Linked DNA regions of Homo sapiens: all the other regions are linked to region 3. The links are contacts of gene promoters, found by promoter capture Hi-C in blood cells and fetal thymus (Javierre and others, 2016). All regions are on one chromosome and are shown on one strand. Each heading gives the region's core, a stretch centred on a gene start or on the middle of the fragment in contact. The rest is flanking DNA. Distances are from core to core; before and after follow the strand shown. Region 1 has its middle 30 kb from the start of LINC03055. Region 2 overlaps LOC105374903 (a long non-coding RNA gene). Region 3 holds the start of RREB1 (ras responsive element binding protein 1).

What was found. Contacts are between HindIII fragments. The CHiCAGO score rates a contact against its expected background, and 5 or more counts as called.
Region 1: a fragment that was not itself captured here is called in contact with the fragment with the promoter of RREB1 in region 3 in 1 of 17 cell types (M2 macrophages); the score reaches 5.5 in M2 macrophages.
Region 2: a contact is called between a fragment that was not itself captured here and the fragment with the promoter of RREB1 in region 3, in 1 of 17 cell types (M0 macrophages). The highest score is 5.1, in M0 macrophages.

Annotation. Positions count from the first base shown.
Region 1 is chr6:6,853,919-6,856,618 of GRCh38, reverse strand. No RefSeq gene overlaps it. Among named protein-coding and RNA genes, the nearest start is that of LINC03055, 30 kb to the left of the region's middle. The HindIII fragment of the contact is 4,005 bases long and covers 1-2,700 here.
Region 2 is chr6:6,875,479-6,878,178 of GRCh38, reverse strand. All of the region lies in intron 1 of LOC105374903 (a long non-coding RNA gene), which reads left to right. Among named protein-coding and RNA genes, the nearest start is that of LINC03055, 8.8 kb to the left of the region's middle. The HindIII fragment of the contact is 4,195 bases long and covers 1-2,700 here.
Region 3 is chr6:7,106,681-7,109,380 of GRCh38, reverse strand. RREB1 (ras responsive element binding protein 1) reads right to left here and starts at 1,420. Exons shown (of 13, transcript NM_001003699.4): 1 at 1,321-1,420. RefSeq lists silencers at 52-141, 162-651, 1,442-1,661, 1,722-2,201 and an enhancer at 2,552-2,611. The HindIII fragment of the contact is 7,744 bases long and covers 1-2,700 here.

The sequences.
Region 1 (2,700 bases), core at 154-2,653, 250 kb after region 3:
TCTAAGAGCTCTGCCAGCTTACAGCCCTCACGTCCTCATGGTGCCAGCAGCCTCCAAACCTGGTCCTGCGACACAGGATCTCTGTTGGTTCCTCATCCTGGGATGCTTTTCCCAGACCCTCCATGTCTAGCTCCTTCCTCCCATTATCTGACAGCTCTGTGGAATGCAACCCCACCCACCCATCATCACTATCTCCCATTCTGCCTTAGTTTCTTCCTTCGTTCTTCCTTTTCTTTTTGACAAGGTCTTGCTCTGTTGCCCAGGCTGGAGTTCAATAGTGCAATCATGGCTCACTGCAGCCTCAACCTCCTTGATCCTTGATCCTCCCATCTCAGCCTCCCAGGTAGCTGGGACCACAGGTGTAAGCCACCAAACCTGGCTAATTTTTGTTGTTGTTGTTTGCGTTTTTGAGAAAGGGTCTCACTCTGTTGCTCCCTGGGTTCAAGTGATTCTCCCATCTGAGCCTCCCGAGTATCTGGGACTATAGGCACGTGCCACTACGCCCGGCTAATTTTTGTTTTTGTTTTTGCTTTTGTTTTTGTTTGAGACTGAGTCTCACTCTGTTGCCCAGGCTGGAGTGTAGTGGTGCAATCTCCACTCACCGCAACCTCCACCTCCTGGGTTCAAGCGATTCTCCTGCCTCAGTCTCCCAAGTAGCTGGGATTACAGGCGCATGCCACTATGCCCGGCTAATTTTTGTATTTTTAGTAGAGATGGGGTTTTGCCATGTTGGCCAGGCTGGTCTTGAACTCCTGACCTCAGGTGATCCACCCACCTCAGCCTCCCAAAGTGCTAGGATTACAGGCATGAGCCACTGCACCCAGCCAGACTTGCTAATTTTTGTATTTTTTTTGTAGAGACGGAGTTTCACTATGTTGCCCAGGCTGGTCTTGAACTTCTGGGCCAAGTGATCTGCCAAAGTGCTGGGATTACATGTGTGAACCACCATGACTGGCCTGCCTTAGTTTTCTTAGTAGTATTTATCCCTGCCTAAAATTCTCTTCGATGACTATTGTCTTACACATGCATTTGTTTACTGATTTCTCTCCTTCCCTAGAACGTACAAGTTCCATGGAAGCAGAGACTTAGTTGGCTTGTTCACCACTCTATCTCCAATGCCTAGATGGTGGCTGGCACTCATGAGGAGCTCAATAAATATATGTTGAATGAATGGATGGAAAATGGTTGGATTTGGAGTTTATAGAATATCTCACTAAATTCTGGTCCTGAGGTCTTTTTTCTCCCACTCCCTCAGTAGAGGCACAGGCTTTTGAGATGGCCAGCAGGCTGCAAATGTGACTCCTTAGTCTCTAAGATTTGTTAGGGTGTCAATGATGGAAATCTAATGATACTTCCTGGCTCTAGTAGAAGTCCTTCAGGACGTCAGAAAATAGATTTAGGGAAAAGTTGCTATTGAATATTAGCCTGGGAGTAATAAACATTCATTGGTAATTTTCTTACAGTACAGATACTATTTTTTTTTTTTGAGACAGAGTCTCACTCTTGATCAGGCTGGAGTGCAGTGGCATGATCGCGGCTCACTGCAACCTCCGCTTGCTGGGTTCAAGTGATTCTCCTGTGCCTCAGCCTCCCCAGTAGCTGGGATTACAGGTCTGTGCTACCAAGCCTGGTTAATTTTTTGTATTTTTAGTAGAGACAGGTTTCGCCTTGTTGGCCAGGCTGGTCTCGAACTCCTGACCTCAGGTGATCAGCCCCCCTCAGCCTTCCAAAGTGTTGGGATTACAGGCATGAGCCACCGCGCCCAGCTCAGATACTACTTTAAAAGGTTTCTACACATTCTTTAAAGGTCAGACAGTAGTATAGGATGGGTTCATTTTAAGTTGTTTGTCAGAAAGTACTGAGTGATTTCAGTAGTGCAGAACCATTGAAGAAAGCAATGGTTTTGGGCAGGTGAGTTTTCCAGTTTAATAAAGCATCAGACTTCTTAACCCTAAAATCAAAATGCAAAGATGAAAGTCTTTTTGACAGAAGAATTCTTATGGAGTAAAATGTTTATATGTACCTACCCTATTATGCTGACTTTCCTGGAGAGTGGTCTGCAGAGAGAGGAAGGGTCTCTGTTTGAAGCCAGAACTAAGGACATGATTCCAGAGACTCTCACATCTATTTCTGATTTTGACTCTGACATGCTTTTGTGAGACCTCCTTTTGTTTTTCTCTTCCTTCCTTCCACTTTTCCTCACTGCTGACATGGAAATTTTAAAAGTTCCTTCTCTCCACCTGCTGCTTTGAGGTCCCAAAGGGAAATTCAAACAAACTTCTCCTATCCTATTTGCAGTTTCTGCCCCAGACAGATGTTCGTTTAAACAATCAAATACTCTGATGGACCTGCAGGACTGTCCCGTAGGAAGGGCCGCCGAGGATCTTACTTCCCAGTTCTGTGCTTAGGAATTTGGTGCCTGAGAGGCCAAAACCTGAGAGGGAGGTCAGGAGTGAGTTTTTCCATCCCTTCATCACCATGGACACCTGCCTGCAACCTGATGGGTTGGCCCAGCTCTCCTGACAGATCAAGATTTTGAATTGAAGGAGAAAGATCCAAGAAAACAACATGCTCTTCTGTACAGAGGCAAAATCATCTTTTGGAAACACCTCTATGTTAGTCAGTTAGCCCTGGGCTCTAATTCCAGCTCTGTCCTCATTAGCTTTCACCTTGGGCAGTTCTTTATCTAAGGGATAGAAA
Region 2 (2,700 bases), core at 193-2,692, 230 kb after region 3:
CCAGCCCCGCACCCCACGACAGGCCCCAGTGTGTGATATTCCCCTCCCTGTGTCCAAGTGTTCTCATTGTTCAATTCCCACCTATGAGTGAGAACATGCAGTGTTTGGTTTCCTGTCCTTGTGATAGTTTGCTCAGAATGATGGTTTCCAGCTTCATCCATGTTCCTGCAAAGGACATGAACTCATCCTTTTTTATGGCTGCATAGTATTCCGTGGTGTATATGTGCCACATTTTCTTTATCCAATCTATCATTGATGGACATTTGGGTTGGTTCCAAGTCTTTGCTATTGTGAATAGTGCTGCAATAAACATACGTGTGCATGTGTCTTTATAGCAGCATGATTTATAATCCTTTGGGTATATACCCACTAATGGGATCGCTGGGTCAAATGGTGTTTCTAGTTCTAGATCCTTGAGAAATCACCACACTGTCTTCCACAATGGTTGAATTAATTTACACTCCCACCAACAATGTAAAAGTGTTCCTTTTTCTCCACATCCTCTCCAGCATCTGTTGTTTCCTGACTTTTTAATGATCGCCATTCTAACTGGTGTGAGATGGTATCTCATTGTGGTTTTGATTTGCATTTCTCTGATAACCAGTGATGATGAGCATTTTTTCAAGAAATCACATGAATCTTTAATCTGGGGCTTTAGCTAATGTATCTTGAAAATTTTAGAAGTTGTGAAAAAAATTGAGTTATGGTAAAAATGACCAGCATTAGTAAATATCAGGCTTTATTTGAATGTGCTTTTCTTTGCAGCTAATGACACCTCCTAAGGATGAGTTTTAAGAAGAGCTGCAAAGAATTTTTTATATTTAAAAAAGTGAGGAAAGAGTCTTTTTTAGCATTCAATAATTCTTACAAAAGTTTCCCTTAATTTGCTATCATAATACTAACCCTAGTGAGTGATAAGTTTTCTTTCTTCCTCCCTTCCTTTCTCTCTCTCTGTCTCTGTCTGTATCACACAAACACACACAGACACACACACACACACGCAATTAGGAAGAATAAGAGGTGACTTTGTGGATGAAAAGCTGTTTTTCACTTCCCTCTACCATATAACTGAATTTAGACTATTCCCAAATACCCAAATTTTAATAATGGGTGTTCCTTTAACAAATAAACAAGCAAATATATAATGCCAGGGAAATCTCCAGAACACTCTGAGTTGATGGCGCTGTTATCATCAAAGGGGGCTTCCCTTTTGTTTGCTGCCCTGGAGTTTCCCCATCATGGAATGATGAATTGGAATCAGACATGGGAGAGCAGAAAGGGGGCCTCTCTTGTCTAAAGTGGGAGACAGGCTATCATGAAGGAACTCTGGGGCACCTTCTCAGTCCAACCGCCTTAAGAAAGAGTGCACGTGGAAGATGAGAATCTGCAAGTTGATTCTCTTAAGACTAGCCAAGCTGTGCCTCCCGGAAAGTCTTCAAGAACCCAAAGTTAGGGGGTGCCCAGTGAGTTGGAAGATTATAAGAGTAAAGAAGAATCATGAAGAGGGAAGGCATTTCTCTCTTTTTTTTTTCTTTTTCTCATTTTCCCTTTTTAAGATAAAAAAAGTTCTTAAAATTTACATATATCCTCGGGACTTTTCTTTTAATAGAGATGAGGACTGATTATGTTGCCCAGGCCAGCCTCAAGCGATCCTTCTGCCTTGGACTCCCAGAGTGCTGGGATTACAGGCGTGAGCCACTGTTCCTGGCCTTGGCTGGCATTTCTTAATTAAGGGGAGAGCCTCACCCATGATCACAACTCACCTATATGCAGCAGAATTGGAGAAAACTGTTCAGCAGCTCCCAGAAACTTCCCTGGGGCTTGTGTACTGAGGGGCCATAGAAATTGCTTTCTATAGATTGTAAGCTCTTTGAGGGCAGGTACTTTGTCATATCCTTCTTTCCTATTTCCCCCGAGGGCCCAGGAGTGTGCCAGGCACGTGGGAGTCCTGCACAAACACACAGCAAAAGGCCTTTTCTATTTCATGGAAGTGAAGGACTTGAAGAGTCCTCTAGAGTTCTTCCAGTTCACTCTCTCGTGCACTATGAATGAAATCCAAACCCTTAAAGACAGCTGAGAATTCATCAGAGTTTTAACGAGCAAGAGAAGGATTCCAATAATACCACTTGTTGCCTCATTTCAGAGTCTACCAGACTACAGTTCAGAGATGCTTCCTTATGAGTCACTTAAGTGCCTGTGTGATTTCACTGTAGACTGAGGAGGCTGGTCCCATCACCAGCGCCCTTGACCTCCACAGGTCAGTTATAGCTTTCTTCCCCTCTTCCTTCCTCAGGCTGGTAAATCTTAGTTATTTTTATATCTCAGAAGGGTAGCATATTTTTGGGAGGTGTTCTCATTTACCTTCTCTTATTATGAGCTGGGAGAATTCAAGTTTAAGAGGGAAAAGATTTAAAAAAACTATCATAATAATATAATAATGATAAAGGCCAGGCACAGTAGCTCATTCCTGTAATCCCAGCATTTTGTGAGGCTGAGGAGGGAGGATTCCTTGAGGCCAAGAGTTCAAAGATAGCCTAGGCAACATAGCGAGACCTTGTCTCTATTTAAAAAAAAGTTTTAAAATTAAAAAAAAAAAAAGGAAAAGATGGTTACACCTCTTTCTTTCTTTCCTTTCTTTCTCTCTCTCTCTCTCTTTTTTTTTTTTTTTTTTGAGATGGAGTCTTGCTGTGTTGCCAGGCT
Region 3 (2,700 bases), core at 171-2,670:
GGCGACGGGAAGGACCTCCCCTGCTCCTTAGCAACCATTAAGGTCGCAGTTTCCTAAGAGACCGCGAGCGGGGAGGGGGCGCGGGGGGCCCGGCCCAAGGCTTGTGCGGGAAGTTGGGGGCGGGGGGGGCAGCAACAGGCCCCCTCCCCCCACCCAGCTAGACGCCGGGGGCCGGGATGGGAGGAGGAAGGGAAGCCCCAGAACTCGTGAAAAACTGGTCCAGCGGGCGGCGGACAAAAGTTTCCGAGCGCGCTCCACAGCTGGGCGGCGGAGCGGGCCCCGGCGGCCGGCCCCGCCTCGGATGCTCCCGGCCTCCTTCCTGTGCTCGTGACGGCGCCGAGCCCCCCACCCCCCCCGCCCGCGAGGCAGGCTAGCTCCACACCGAGGGCTCCCACGAAAACACTCACCCCGCCAACGGAAGGGCGAGGGAACAATACGTGCCCGCACGGCTAGGGCCCGGTCCCCTCCTCCCCAGGCCCCCCGGGGCGGTGGTCGGCGTGACCACGACCGCCAGCCGGGAACCCGCGAGGGCGCGGGGCTGCCCGCGGCCCCCTCCCGGCCGGCGCCGTCCGCCCGGGAGGTTCAAAGTCCGCAGAGCAGGGCGCGGCGGATGCTCCCACCGAGCAGCCCCGAGCAGGCACCCCCGCGCGAGCACCCCGGGCAGGCACCCCCGGATACCTTAGGGCGGCGGCGGGAGGGCGGGCGCCGTCATCTCCGCGCTTCCCGGCCCGAGAAGGACTCGAAAGTATGTAGGAGAAAAGTTTCCCCTCCCACATGGGGGGGAGGATGTCGAGGGAGAGAGGGCGGAAGATGGAGAGCAGCGCTGGGAAGATGTTTCTGGCCGGCGGTGCGCGCACCATCCGAGTCCCGGCGGTGCTGGTTAAAAATAAACTCGGCGGCGCGGGTCGGGCCGGATTCCTGCGCTCGGACGGCTAATATGGATGCGCATCAGGTCCTGCTGGCGGGGCGCTGCGGCGGCTCGCGCTGGGAGCTGGTTGGCAGAGCCGGCGGCTCGGGAAAGGGAAAAGAGCGGAGGAAGGGGAGGAGGAGGAGGAGGAGGAGGAATGGCCCGGCGCGCAGCCCGAGGGGAGAGGGCTGCCCCGCTCATCCCTGGCCGCCCCGCCGGCCCGAGCGCACGCTGCGCGGAGTGGGGCGTGCGGGTCCCCGGCTCCGGGACACACCGAGTTTCAAAAGTACAACGCGCTCTGCAGACTTCACCCTCCCCATCCCCAAAGTTCTTTAAAAGGTCGCTCCGGCTGTGCCCCAGACTTCTCGCTGCCGCCGGCGTACCGCGAGTCGGAATCCGGGGCACGTACTTACGGCCGGGCAGGACGCTTGGCTCCCTGGCATGATGCGTTGGGGACCGGTGGGCTTCAGGGAGAGACCGAGGAGAGATGCAAACTTGTTCCGGAAAAGGAATCAAAATGGCGTTTCTGGATGTGCAAAGTTCATCAACTCCGCAGTCACTTCCCCTCCTCCTCTTCTCCCACAGGGAGGGAGGTGGGCGAGGAGCTGGCGACCCCGGCGCCCCAGCCGTCGTCCCGGCCCCCGTCTCGGCCCCCCGCCCAGCTTCCTCGCCCGCACGCTCGGAGTCTCGCTCTCCCCCTCTCACCCTGATAAGTAGACACATCACGTGTTGCTCCTGCGAGTCTCCTGGGGACGTGTTACTGAGCGGCCGCGGCGGCGGCGGCGGCGGCGGCGGCGGCGCTCGGACTGGGGGGGGTGAGGGGGAGGACCGCCGCCCCCGCCCCGACTTTAGCAGGGTGACCGCAGTTGCCATCCCGGGATGGATGGAGGTGGAGTCCCCTCCCCACCCCCCACCGCAGCCCCAGGTTTGCCCTACGCCCTCCCAAGGCGCCCCGGGCCATGGGAGGGCCGGGCTGCCCGAGGGGAAGGGTCCGGGAGGCCGCGACTGGCTGCGATCCCAATCGTCCCGTTGCTCGCGGGCCACCTTATTCGGCCACCGCGCCCCCTCCCCTGCAGCCCCTCGCCGCGGGCGACTCCCCGCCCCCGGCTTTCCATCACTTCACTCCGCAGTTTCACTATTTTAACGGAGGCGGGGGAGACACGGTGATGCCTCGGAATTGCGAGAGGGGCACCTCAGAGGCGCTGGAGTTGGGGGGATGGGGGGCGTAGGGCTCGGGGCCCTGGCCTGACGCCGCCCCTCTGGGTCTCCGAGGCATCTGCGAGGGGGAGCCCCGCCCGCGCCGTTTCCTTTCCACGCGGTCCTCGCTCTGCATCCAGGTGGGGCGAGTGGATGATGGGGCAGGAGATTAAGGAGCAGGCGCTTCACCCCGCCCCTAGCTTCGAGCCGTTTCTCTCCCGGGGCCATCCTTCTTACTCGGGCTGCCGCCCTGAGTGTGCTCGCCGTCTAACAAACTCAACTCCGACCCGACTTTGGTCCCCCTCCCTTACCCACACCCCACAAAGGATGCTTCAGCGGGGAACTGCCGTGGCCGCCAGGGGCTGAGGACGGTTCCTGCCGCCACTGTGTCCCCACCCCGCGATGGAATGGCTGATGCTGTGTCATCCACGTCGCCCTCCAAGGCTTCAGAGAAGCCACACGCAGTATCTCTTTCTCTCAGAGGGCTCCTGTTTCAACTCTGAAAAGCAGGGGCCCTTCTCCGAGCCGCTCTCCATCTCTCCAGCTCCTGCCACCACGCTTCGCACTGGCTGCCTTGCCCCAAGTTATCACGGAGC